3 separate regions of the Homo sapiens genome follow, and regions 1 and 3 are each linked to region 2. Evidence: promoter capture Hi-C in human tissues and cell types (Jung and others, 2019). All regions are on one chromosome and are shown on one strand. Each heading gives the region's core, a stretch centred on a gene start or on the middle of the fragment in contact. The rest is flanking DNA. Distances are from core to core; before and after follow the strand shown. Region 1 overlaps AGAP1 (ArfGAP with GTPase domain, ankyrin repeat and PH domain 1). Region 2 holds the start of GBX2 (gastrulation brain homeobox 2). Region 3 overlaps AGAP1 (ArfGAP with GTPase domain, ankyrin repeat and PH domain 1).

Evidence for each region. The method cuts DNA at HindIII sites, captures the fragments that hold promoters and counts their contacts. A contact is called where the count stands out against the background at its distance.
Region 1: a contact is called between a fragment that was not itself captured here and the fragment with the promoter of GBX2 in region 2, in 1 of the 25 tissues and cell types used here (mesendoderm cells).
Region 3: a contact is called between a fragment that was not itself captured here and the fragment with the promoter of GBX2 in region 2, in 3 of the 25 tissues and cell types used here (H1 embryonic stem cells, heart right ventricle and spleen).

What each region holds. Positions count from the first base shown.
Region 1 is chr2:235,981,171-235,985,538 of GRCh38, reverse strand. The region is part of intron 13 of AGAP1 (ArfGAP with GTPase domain, ankyrin repeat and PH domain 1); the gene reads right to left. All of the region lies in intron 1 of LOC124907999 (a long non-coding RNA gene), which reads right to left. Among named protein-coding and RNA genes, the nearest start is that of GBX2-AS1, 180 kb to the left of the region's middle. The HindIII fragment of the contact is 4,487 bases long and covers 146-4,368 here.
Region 2 is chr2:236,167,034-236,171,199 of GRCh38, reverse strand. GBX2 (gastrulation brain homeobox 2) reads left to right here and starts at 2,814. Exons shown (of 2, transcript NM_001485.4): 1 at 2,814-3,751. The coding sequence starts at 3,229. GBX2-AS1 (GBX2 and ASB18 antisense RNA 1) reads right to left here and starts at 3,758. Exons shown (of 2, transcript NR_186035.1): 1 at 3,531-3,758. It overlaps LOC124906126 (a long non-coding RNA gene), which reads right to left and starts at 2,174. Exons shown (of 2, transcript XR_007088136.1): 1 at 1,816-2,174; 2 at 1,404-1,671. RefSeq lists an enhancer at 3,683-4,166. The HindIII fragment of the contact is 12,753 bases long and covers 1-4,166 here.
Region 3 is chr2:235,918,086-235,922,693 of GRCh38, reverse strand. All of the region lies in intron 11 of AGAP1 (ArfGAP with GTPase domain, ankyrin repeat and PH domain 1), which reads right to left. Among named protein-coding and RNA genes, the nearest start is that of GBX2-AS1, 250 kb to the left of the region's middle. The HindIII fragment of the contact is 4,419 bases long and covers 819-4,608 here.

The DNA.
Region 1 (4,368 bases), core at 1,140-3,639, 190 kb after region 2:
CAGGACATAGACATGGGCAAAGACTTCATGACAAAAATGCCAAAAGCAATTGCAACAAAAGCCAAAATTGACAAATGGGATCTAATTAAACTAAAGAGCTTCTGCAAAGCAAAAGAAACTATCATCAGAGTGAACAGGCAACCTACAGAATGGGAGAAAAATTTTGCAGTCTATCCATCTGACAAAGGGCTAATACCCAGAATCCACAAAGAACTTAAACAAATTTACAAGAAACAAACAACCCCATCAAAAAGTGGGCAAAGGATATGAACAGACATTTCTCAAAAGAAGACATTTATGCAGCCAATAAACATATGAAAAAGAAGCTCAACTCACTGATCATCAGAGAAATGCAAATCAAAACCACAGTGAGATACCATCTCATGCCAGTTAGAATGGTGATTATTAAAAAGTCAGGAAACAAAAGATGCTGGTGAGGCTACGGAGAAATAGGAATGCTTTTACACTGTTGGTGGGAATGTAAATTAGTTCAACCATTGCGGAAGACAGTATGGCGATTCCTCAAGGATCTAGAGCCAGAAATACCATTTGACCCAGCAATCCTATTACTAGGTATATACCCAAAGGAATATAAATCATTCTGCTATAAAAACACATTCACACATATGTTTATTGCAGCACTATTTACAATAGCAAAGACATGGAACAAACCCAAATGTCCAACAATGACAGACTAGATAAATAAAATGTGCTAAATATACACCATGGAATACTATGCAGCCATAAAAAGGAATGAGATCATGTCCTTTGCAAGGACATGGATGAAGCTGGAAGCCATCTTCCTCGGCGAACTAACACAGGAACAGAAAGTCAAACACCATAGGTTCTCACTCATAAGTGGGAATTGAACATCGAGAACACATGGACACAGAGCGGGGAACAATACACACCAGGGCCTGTTTGGGGGTCGGGGGTGAGGGGAAGGAACTTAGAAATGGGTCAATAGGTGCCGCAAACCACCATGGCATATGTATACCTATGTAACAAACCTGCACAATCTGCGCATCTATTTTTTTTTTTTTTTAAGAAATAAAGGAAAAAAAAAAAGAATTTGGTGGTTCCTTGAAAAGTTGAACAGAGTTACCATATGACCCAGCAATTCCACTCCTAGGTTTATACCCTAGGAAAAACTGAAAACAGGGACTCAAACAGATACTTGTGTGACAATGTTCACGCAGCATCCTTCATAACAGCCAAAAGGCGGAAACAATCCAAGTGTCTGTCAACAAACAAAATGTTGTAAATCCACACTATGGAATATTATCCATCCTTTAAAAAGAATGGTGTACAGACACATGCTACAACATGGAACATTATGCCAAATATAAGATGCCAGACACAAAAGGATCCATATTCAACTATCATATGATTCTTTTGATATGAAATATCCAGATGAGGCAAATTCACAGACAGAAAGCAGGCTGGAGGTCACAGGGGCTGGGAGAAGTAGGGGCTGGGGAGTTGTTGCTTAATGGTTAGCAGATTTCTGTTTGGAGTGAAGAAAATGTTTTGGGAATGGCGGTCATGGTTGTCCAGCACTGTGAATGTGAAAATATAATTCAACGGCACTGAATTGAACACTTAAAAACAATTAAAATGGCAAATTTTATGTTACATACAGCCATGTATCCCCATCGTTAAGTGATGCATTCTGAGAAATGTGTCGTTAGGCGATTTTGTCATTGTGTGACCATCACAGAGTCCATACATAAGCCTAGATGGTGTGGCTACCACACACTCAGGCTATGTGCAGAGCCTATTGCTCCCAGGGCATAAACCCATACAGTATGTGACTGTATCAAAAACTGTAGGCAGTGGCAACACAATGGGAAGTGTGTATTTAAACATCTAACCATAGAAAAGGCACAGTAAGGACACGGTATTATAATCTCATGGGACCACCATCACATTACTTGGTCCATCATTGAACAAAATGTTGTAATGTGATGCATGACTGTATTTTGCCACAATAAAAAAAAGTTCAAAGAAAAAAGAGAATAAGAAAGGGAGAAAAAGACAATGATGAGGTTATGGATGGGAAAAGAAGAAAAAAGAAATTAAACAAGAGAAGCAAGGACAGTCTTACAGGAAAAAGGAGAATGGAAGAGAAAGAAGGAAAGGAGAAAAAGGGGCCAGAATGTAGAAAGTGATGGGAGGTTGGTGCTGGAGAGGAGGAGCTGAACAAAAGGAGGGGGCCTAGCAAGGGGAGAAGCCCCTTGCCCAGACCCCTGCCCCGGTGGATGCCCTCCCAGCCATGTTCCCTGCAGCAGCGCTGGTCCTTTGCACACCTGTAAAGAGACCCTCCTGCAGCTCCCCTTGCTGGGCACTTCCATAACCCCCCATCCTGTCCCTTCTCTGGGGTCGTCCACCAGCCCCAGCATCCTGGGAGACCCCTGAGGCCAGCTTCCTGCTCAGCAAATGGCCCTGCAGCAGTGAGCACACCTCCACAGACCAGGCTGGCTTAAGGAATGTCTCCTCATGCTCACACATCGCTCATCTGAACAGTGTGGAGGAGTGTTTGCAAATGCTTTTTAGGGGTTGGGAAAAAAAATTAAAATAAGAACTGGATTTGGCCTATAAATGAATGGGTATCAAATCTTGTCTCAGAACTCAAGTAAAAGAACGTGGGAAAAAGTGGCTCTCCTGGGCAAACTAAGCTGATGAGCTGGCAATCAGAAACAGAAGGTAACAAGTCACTGATGACAGTAACATATTAATCTTTGAATGTCCAGAAGGAAAGAAAACCAATTTCCCATCAATGACATTCTGGAACCACTCAGGGCACAATGGTGGAAGTCTGGAAAGAATGGCAGCCAAGGGCTGGCTTCGGTTCTTTCCTTCCACGAACGGACTGGGCAAGTATTTCTGTGCTGCTCGAAAAGAAACAGGGCCTAAACCTTCTCTATGTTCCTTCAATGAGCCTGGGAGAGCAGACAACGAAGAGGAAGGTTGAAAATTCTTATCTTCAGTAGTCCCCTAGAACCAATGATAATACAGGTTACTTTTACCATTTATGAGTTCTTCAAACCAACACCCCACAACAGCAGTGCCTCATTGCATGAATCGTCCCCCCTTCCTTCTGACCTCCTAGCTATGACCCTCCCAGCTGATGTCCCCACGGTGTGCAGAATAAAGTAATATTTTGGGGGAAAATCATGAAAATAGTTATAGATCTTAAATTGCTTAATTAATTGGCCCGTTGAGGTAATTATATGTTAATTGTAAGAGTTACTCTGCATTCACAGCTAAAAGTGTTTCTGCATGTTTACTGACTCTTTGATTCTCTTTAAATGTGAGAAATGGATTTACTTGTCCAGGTAAAATTACCAGGCTGCGAAGAGATCATCATTATATATGCCAGCTTTCCAAAATTACAGCCTTTGAAACTTTGATCATTTGTTCTTCGTGGATCTGGTATTTTCTAAGTGCTGTAAAAATGCATTCTGTCAATCTGCTGAAGCACAGCCTCGGGTAAAATGTCAGAAGTTTTTATGGTTGGAATATTAACTTATTAAAATTAAGAAACACTCTTCAGATAACCCATAATAAAACCCCTTATTTTATATGAACTTCTTCTGTAGGAAGAATCCTAGACAAGCCAAGATTCGGAGGCAAGACCGCTGAAAAGACAAGCGCCCCCTTCCAAGGGAAGGGAAGGTCACCGTGGAGATGTGTTAGAGGCGGCGAGCACTGCTGCCCTCGCCTGGATCGGTGGCCCTATCGCTGCTTTCTACGTCTATGGCCTTGAGCAAGTTACTTAAACTTTATGACCCTCGGTTTCCTCAGTTATAAAAATGCGGATAACGGCACCCACCTCCCAGGTTCTTGTGAGGGTTATGAGACGCTGCGTGTAAAGCACTTAAGCCCAGTGCCTGACACATGGCAGTGGTCAATAATTGATAGTGATATTATTGCTAATAGATTGTCAACTCTGAGTTTCTGTTTCGTGATTGATTTCCTCTTTGAAAGAGGCATCACTAAATGTGTATTCTGGTAGAAAATATTTTATTTTCATGAAATTCAGAAAGAAAAAAAATAACACCGTGTGTGTGTGTGTGTGTGTGTGTACGCATGGAACATGAACTTAGAAATTCTGGTCAGCTCTCTTAGGGGTGTTCTGGTAACCATGCCTACAGTATATCATGGCTTCTGCAGAAAACCAACTGAAGGGGAAAATCATTCCTACCTGAAGAAAGCAAGAAAGACCCAAATGAATAATCAAGCCAAAGAACAAAGCTACCTATTTATTTAATTAAGAAGAGTCAAATCAAGTTATTGAAATACCTGCTGGAGCAATGCTACGGCTCTCGTCCCTCATATAAGCTTAGTGACCACAGGCCCCGAGGC
Region 2 (4,166 bases), core at 1,565-4,064:
GGAGGGGGGAGGGGACCAAGTTGCAAACATCTGTGCCCGGTGATTTTCCCGCGTAGACTGGGCCGAGCTGAGTCACGGAGGACTCTGCAGTTTGAGGCTGTTACGAGCTAAGCAGGTAGGAATCCGGAGGATGGATAAGCCATGCATCTATCGCTCCTGTCCATAAATCTATCCGAGGAGCCGAGGAAAAACTCTAAAGGCTTTTATTATCCGCAGTCCCCACGCTCTGAACGCTTTGCAGGTAGCTGAGGTGCCCCGAATGCATCTTGTTAATCACGCCGAAACACAAGGATCCTTTTATGACACGAACAGTCGTTTTCTAAGCAGCTAAGCATTAGATGAGAAAGTATTACTGCATTGCATTTGCGAAAAAGGCACTAGTAAATAAAATTCATATTGATGGGAATTATCTGAACTCACTAATAAAAGATTAGTATTATAACCCCTGCAGTCAATACTTGCTATGGCAATTTATGGATGCAAATAACATGCCATCAAATTATTTCAAGTGCAGCTATAATTCGACGGACCTAAATCTTCTTGCTGAACTTTAAATGTAGAATAATCACCAAAATAATCAAAGGAATCCCTGCCTCTCAGAGGGTAATCAGGCGACAAAAGTCCCTAGAACAATATTTTTGCGGCGAAATAGCAAAGTGCATGGCAAACCTGCCTAGGTAAAATGAATAACAGCTTCCCCCGGCATGTCAGTGGCAAGCCGGAAGGGCCCCGGCTGTAGCCACGTAAATCAAGGAAGGAATGGAGCGTTTCTTAGTATTCAAAAAACAGGGTAATGGCACCCAAGGCTGTGTCACTGTAACTATCTCATAATGAGGGGGAGTATTTATTATGCTCATAAAGATATCAGCCTTTTGCCCTGGGCTTCGATTTTTTTTTTCTTTTTCTTCTTTTCTGGGAGTGAAGAAGGAGGGATAGAGCCTGGAGATCCCACAGACACCTCCTTCTCCATGGATCCCAAAGGGAATTCATTTCCCCTCACACTGCCTAAGCCACCTCGGGGTCTGGGCGTGAAGTCAGGGGAGGCAATCCAGGCAGCGTCCTAATGAATTCCTTTCAAACCGCCTGCTGCCGGAGCGATCTATTACTGCGGCCTGGAGTGGGGAAACGCGATCGAGACGTCTTTGTCCGGGTGGTGGTAGGGAGGGAGGAGGCGAGGAGGAGGAGAGGGCTGGCGGCGGACCAGCGAGTTTTCCCAGCGTCCCGGGGCGCCAAGGACACACCCTCCCCTCTTTCCTCCAGGTCTGCTGGGTGGGCAGTGGGTCTCCGGCGGGACTCCTGGCAGAGGAGCTGATCTGGGATTAAGACGTCCCCCGGGGGGCCTTGGGGCTAGAGCGAGAGAAAGAGGAAGAACGCGAAAAAAGAGCTTCAAAGAATCGGGTCGATAAATTCATAAAGATCGATTTATCTTTATCTCCCAATTAAATGTGCTTGTAAGTGATACATAACACACGTCCAACACGGGCCAACTCCCCAACCACTAGCTCCTCGGCGTGAGCTGATTTTTAATGACCGAACTAACAATGCCCTTCTTTCCTTCTCCCCAACCCGGTGCTGTTGGCGGTTCAGGGCTGACGTCTAGACCCGGGAAGTTGAAGCCCGGGCCTTGGAGACTCGAGGAAGCCCCGCTCGCGCTGGTGCGCTCTGCACGGTCTGCCGTTGTCAAGAAGTGATTCCATTTTTAAAGGGAAGACAAGAGCTGAAAGTTTTTTGTTTGAAAATGGAAGAGGGGATAAGTACGTCCCTAGTTTCCCTCCACCCCAAAATTCCCTTACTTTCAAATTTGGGGGTCTTTACCGTTGTCGAGAACAGGGGAAACATCCTGAGGGGATCGGCTCCATCCTGCAGTTAGCAAAGAGGAACCGCGCGCCCTCGAGTCCTCGCGCTGGAAACCGGGCGGCGGCGCCAGGGTGAGCACTCCTTGCGTTCGCAACGTGCTTAATTAGCGCCTATTTACAAAACGCAGCTTTTATTTGAGCAAACATCATAAAGCTTTCATCAGGATAATCTCACGTTATACAATCTGGAGGCACAGCAACTCCCCCCTTCCTCCCCGAGGATGGAGCAGATAAAGGACTCTCTTTATTATCATAATTATCGTGGTTGTTATTTTGGTGCGCGCTGGCAAAGTGTGTAAATAGGTGCGATGATTAAGAATGTCATGAAAAATGAGAGACGGGATCGCTCACGGGAGGGCCCAGCCCGGGATGGGGGAAGCAGCAGCCTCCCCGCCCCACCCGGTGCGCGGACCTACAGCGAGCAACCCGGCGGGTTTCTGGCGGCGGGCAGGCGCTGCCAGCTCCCAGCCTTCGCCCCGGGGGTGGCTCCGGAGGGGCAGGACCCTGCCCCCAACTCCAGGACCCTCGCCCGGACCCCAGGCGCAGCCGGAGCACCCAGCGCTGGAGTGAGCCGCAGGCAGGTTGGTTCCATGGCAAATACAGTAAAAGAAATAAAGCGCCCCCGGCCCAGCCGTGGGGGTGCGGGCCCCGGAGGCTACCCTTCGAGGTGGCCTCGACAAGGCTGCAGGGCCCCAAGGTCCGAGCCTTGGAGGTGCCATCCGCCCGTCTCAAGTTTGCGCGGCACGGGCTAGGCATGCAGGCTCCGGCTCCCCGGCCCGCGCGCTCCGACGGTGGCGCCCGCAGCCCGCTCGAGGCCAGCTTGGGTGGAAAGGGCGGGGCCCCGCTTTCGCCCCACCCCCGCCCCGCTCAGCCAATGGCCAGAGGCGCCCAGCCCCACGTGAGGCGAGCCGGGCCAGGCGGCAGGCAAAATGTGAATGAGAAAGAGGAGCGCGATTTAAAGGTGCTGGCTGCGCCCGCCGGAGATAAGTACGCCGGCTTCGCGCGCTCCCCAGCGGCCCGCGGGAGGCGACGGACGGCGGGACGGACGGACGGACGGCAGCTTACCGGGGCCGAGGGCCAAACCCGCGAAGCGCGCGGGCTCCGACGGGCAAGCGGCGGACGGGGGCTCCGGCGAGCCCTCGGGGCCCGGGCGCCCTCTCCACTCCGGGGCGCACGGCCTCACCCCGCACACCCCCTGCACCCGCCCGGCATGCAGCGGGCCCAGGACTGAGGGGCGGAGGCGTCTGCTCTCCGGGTCCCGCTCGGCCCCTGCCCGGCGCTCCCGGCGGTGCTCCCGGCGTCCGGCGGGCTTCCCGGCGGCGGCGCGGCGCGGGGACTTTTCGCCTCTCGCTGGCCTCTACCGAGCGCGTCTATGAGCGCAGCGTTCCCGCCGTCGCTGATGATGATGCAGCGCCCGCTGGGGAGTAGCACCGCCTTCAGCATAGACTCGCTGATCGGCAGCCCGCCGCAGCCCAGCCCCGGCCATTTCGTCTACACCGGCTACCCCATGTTCATGCCCTACCGGCCGGTAGTGCTGCCGCCGCCGCCGCCGCCGCCGCCCGCGCTGCCCCAGGCCGCGCTGCAGCCAGCGCTGCCGCCCGCACACCCTCACCACCAGATCCCCAGCCTGCCCACAGGCTTCTGCTCCAGCCTGGCGCAGGGCATGGCGCTCACCTCTACGCTCATGGCCACGCTCCCCGGCGGCTTCTCCGCGTCGCCCCAGCACCAGGAGGCGGCAGCGGCCCGCAAGTTCGCGCCGCAGCCGCTGCCCGGCGGCGGTAACTTCGACAAGGCGGAGGCGCTGCAGGCTGACGCGGAGGACGGCAAAGGCTTCCTGGCCAAAGAGGGCTCGCTGCTCGCCTTCTCCGCGGCCGAGACGGTGCAGGCTTCGCTCGGTGAGTCGGCGGCGCGCGCAGCCGGGACGAGGGGGCGGGAGGAGGCGGGGGCGGGCCAGCGCCGGGTTCCCGCGGGAGACCAAGGGGGCGAGGCCGCGCCCCCGCTCGACCCCCGCGGGAGGAGCTGGAGGATGAGGCCCGGCTGTGCCGCTGGGCCTCCGGGGGACATTCAGAGCCACCCAACAAGCGGGGTCTCGGGAGGGGGGGCGTTTAGCGCCCGGCGACCAGCTGCTGCCCTGGGCCACATATCTATCTGACGATGCGTTTGGCCGAGGCCGCCTCTGCCGCTCCGCGGTGACCTGGGGTTCCGGGTAGGTTGCAGCCTCTAGGGGAGACGGGTTGGGCTGCGCGTCTCAGCCGTGCGTGTGCCCAGGGGCGCCCAGACTTTTTAAACCCCTTCGCTGGTCTTGCTACT
Region 3 (4,608 bases), core at 1,779-4,278, 250 kb after region 2:
CAGAATCCCTCTTTTAAGCTATTAGCTTATTACATTAAAAATAGCCTGTTCTGATTTTTAAAAATATACTCTGAAATGATGGCTTTTCATAGCATTCAAATAAAGATTCATCAACAAATCTTTACAATAACAATAACAAAATACAAAAGTTCATTCCCTGCGCCTTCCAATTTTGGTCTGTCTTTACAAATAGGACTTAACTTCACCAAAGCATTTAACTAGGAAAATAATAGCTGGCATTTGACTTATTGGTTAAGTAAGCCTGAAAAGAGGAGCAACTCTTGGTGATGGCGATAGGAACTTTCATGTACATAGAAAGAGGGCGGGGAAAAAGCCAAAAAGGATTCTATGAGCACTTGAGTGTAAAACAGACGTTTATTCCCACTGCAGAATTGTATACCTTCTATTTTAACAAATCCTAATTACAGGAATATGATTGACAAGAATTCACCCTTCCCCTATGGAGCCTTCACCCTTAGAAACATCCAGGGACGGCTTTCTTCGGTCCAATCTCATTCACAGGCAGCTTCAAATGCTGTAAAAACTCAGCGTGAGCGGCTACCTTGCAAACCCTACAGCTGCACCACGCCCGTTGTGCGCATGTGTGGGAAAACCGGGTTCCCTGGAATCACAACTGGATGAAGGAGGCGACGTTAACAGTCACATCACTTCAAACTAGGCCTTCGCCATCTGTTCTGTCCTCTAATTACAAACCCAAAAAGAACAGAATTCACAACACTACCATAAAAAGTGAGACACACGATTTAAGGCCTGTGAATGGGGCCCATTCGCTCCTGTATTTGCATTGGAGATCTGCCTTGCTTTTGGCAAGTGGAATTTCAGGCTGAGAGGATTTTTTTTCCAAGGACACATTCAGTATCTTATAAGATGTAGGCATTCGGGACTCTGCATCCTGTGATACTTGTTTTGTAAAAGAGTACAATTCAACATATCTACTAGGAAGACACAAATCTGGTGTTTCTTGATACCTTTTGTTTAGTTAAGAGATTTTCCATGTTATGTTTATCAAGACAGAGTACAGAGTTCAGACCTAGTCACAATGACAGATGTAATTACTACTAAATACAGCAACGTGGCCAGGCTTAGGATTCCACATCCTGGAATTACACAGCTCTTTCCTACAACGTAGAAACAGCTCATTGTATGCTGCTTTCTCCCTGTTCTAAATTATGATGTCAAGGAAAAAAATAATGGGGGCCTATTTTGTTGTACTGTTAAAATATACTTGGCAAAAGTACAGATATACAAATAATGTAAACTAAATCCACCAAAATCTCGTCTAACAGATCAATTTTTTATTGAACATATGCATACATTGTTCTTGGTTATGGCCACAGAAAAGATATAACTTTATACACTTCTTTAATATGATTTCCTAACCATTTTCCCCATGTTGTTATGTAATCTTCATAATTTTAGATATGTAACATTATTGATTTAATGTAGATAATTTATATCACCATTTTTCTACTTCTGGATAGTTTTGGTTGTTTCCAATTTCTGGCTATAAACAACACTGCAAAGGACATCTTCTACTTTTGAATTTTCCTTAGAAGAAATTCTCAGCAGCGTTATTACTGGAACAAACAGCATAATATATCTTTCTGATTCATGATATATGTTGCTAATTAATTTTCTTAATGACCAGTAACTAAAAGAAGATGGAACCTGGGCATCTTTAAAGCAATTTAGTCCATAATTTCTAAGTGGATAATAATAATAATGAAGAAATGGTGATAATGATAACAGTATGCCCCATGTGGTTAATATAATGATCAAATTATGTAAAGCACTCTGTAAACTGTAAAACCTCTGCAGATATCAGTTATTAATCTCATCAACAGTGGGTTTTCCTATCTCTACAGTTTTTTAGCAAAAGCTTAAAATGGTGATGTTGCTAATCTTGTTTGTCTTTAAAATCTAAAATGTCTGAATATTTTCCTTATGTTTCCCTTGTAATGGTGTCTCTTCATGTATGAACTGTGCATGCCATCTGCCTCCTGTTTGCTTTAGTGCTGTAGTTGGCATCACTTTGCTTGAGCTCATTCATTCCCTCTGTGAGTACTTACTGAACACCCACCATCAACTAGTGAAGTGCTTGGTGCTGTGGAGAACTCCACGGCACCCCCCATCTTCCAGCATCCCAAAGGTCTGATGATCAGAGCGATGCCAATGTTGTCAGAGGTACAGTTTACAAAAGAAAGGAAGGAGAGAAAAAAAACAACAACCCTGCGCTTGGGGCACCATGCGCATGCAGCGGATGAAGGACATGGCCTGACAGCAGGTGACAGTGAGCTGGAGCGCCAGAGTCATCCCTTCCCTCCCATCCCTGGGTTACTGCTCCATGTTGGGAGTGGATATCATGTGGCAATTGGTACAATTTAAGACAAAATATTTACCATGTCAGACGCTAAGTTCTCATTTAAGTAATTATATTTAGAAATAAGTGTAAGTATTTATTCTAAAGACAAAGTTGCTTTCTCCAGCCACACAGTTCTACATAACAGAAAAAAGAATATACAGAATCCAGACCCAGTTGCAATGACAAATTTAACGACTACTAAATACATCAACGTGGCCAAGCAGAATTCAACATCCTAGAATTAGACGGTTCGTCGTCACTTCCTAAAACGTGGAGTCTTATTCCGACCTTTGCAAAACAATGTGTGCCATTCTCATTTTGCCATTTTTATCTGCTGAAGGAACACGTGCTGCTCCAGATTCCGACAGTGTTTATGGAGAGCGCCATCGTACGGCTTGTCTTGGCCACAATCCATCTCCTGGTATGGGTTATATGGACAAGCTGATGCAACAGCGAGGATGAGGGGTGTAAGCATTGTGAAGACGGAGAAGAAAAGAATTTTTCTTTGTTTGGTGTCTTCCTTTGCCATGAATAACGGTTCCATCTTTACAATATTCTTTCTCCTTTATATGATAAATGCAACAGGTGTGTGTGTGTGTGTTTTTAACATGAAATTCATTTTCATTTGACAACACTGTTTTGAGGGGAGCGTTCCCCGGTCATCTCTGAATTTTACAGTCCCCTTCCAGGAGCAGGTGGCCCCACAGCTCTATCCTGAGAAGTATTCACTACTACTTCTTTCTCTGCTTTCCAGTTCTTACAAAATGATCTCACAACTGAATCCAGCAATGACACAGGGAAGACAAAGCACCAAGGAGTACCCCGGGCTCACAAGTCTGATAACATGAGGCGGGTTTTACAGGTTTGCTGGTTGGGATGTTACGGGGTTTGACCACTCCCTAGAAATACTCCAGAAACGCAAACGTTCACTATATGAGTGGTAACTCAAAACAATGGGCCACAAGGTTTCGAGATGGAAAAATGTCACGATTACTTCGAAAAACTCTCCTCTGCCAGTGTGGGAAAGGACTGCAGGAAGCAGGGAAGCCACGGACTCAACTCTAGCCTGGAAGAACCAGAAGCCCTTTCCCAAGGCCTCGGTTCTCACTGGCCCCCGGGGCTGGCAGCTGGCTCCCTGGTGGAGGGGGCGCGGGTAATTCACAGAGGCTCTTCCGGGCACCTCCTCTTTCCCACAGCTGACCCTGCAGACCACTTCGCTGGTCTCGGAAGCATCAGTTCAGCAGCTGAAACACTATTCCTCCCTGCCCACACACATTTTTGAGAGAAAAAAAGTGTTTGAAGCACCTTTTATTTACTTGTAGGCACACCTGTTACCACATCCAACTCAAGGTCCTGGCCATCCCCTGATATGTCTCAGCTGAAATCATCAGGAATCAAGTTGCTTTAGTTGGTTCTTTCAGAAAAGAACACTCCACTTAGAGTTCAAATAATTGAAGCTATCCTTAATTTAGGAAGTACAATACTTACTTCTGAATTACACACCAATGCTCAGGACCACAGAGAGCTACTACAGGGGAACATTATCTGCAGGAAAGCAACTAATCTCCTCAACATCCATCACTTACATTTAACATGATGGGTAACATGCAGGAATATATACCTAATGAGAAAATAATTGCTAGGTCACAAAACTAAGAGAGGATAACAAAGAAAGAGAAGTAACAGTGTATGCCTCAAAGAGTTTACAATTTAATGATGGAAACAATACCACACGAATTTGCCTAAACCTCAGTGGGAGCAATGTATAAACACGGAAACAACTAATAGTGAGAACGCATTGCTCATAAAAGCTGAAGATGCTGCAATTCTTAAAAAGAACTAAGATGAACTTTAGTGTCCTCTAATGTCAGATTTAGCTAACTTTCTGATGTCTGAGAAGCCTCACAAAACATTAACATTTTCCCTAAAAATTGTCAAATAGACATTAAAACCAATTCCAACAAAACCTGGTTTATGAAAGCAGATATCACATGCTACTGATATTGAGGTTTTATTTCAGAAAAATAATTCTCGACCAGTAAGGCTTCCATTTGCAAATGGTCTACCAAGGTGCTAGAAGGGTACTTAGCAGAAGCTTCCAATTTATATGTTGTAACCAAGATCCAATGTGTGGAAAACTCCCGAGTGACCTTGGTCGACATGAGTGGGAAGCAAGGATCTGTGTTCCACCAAGCCTTGGCCACACCGCATGCCGGCAGGGGACA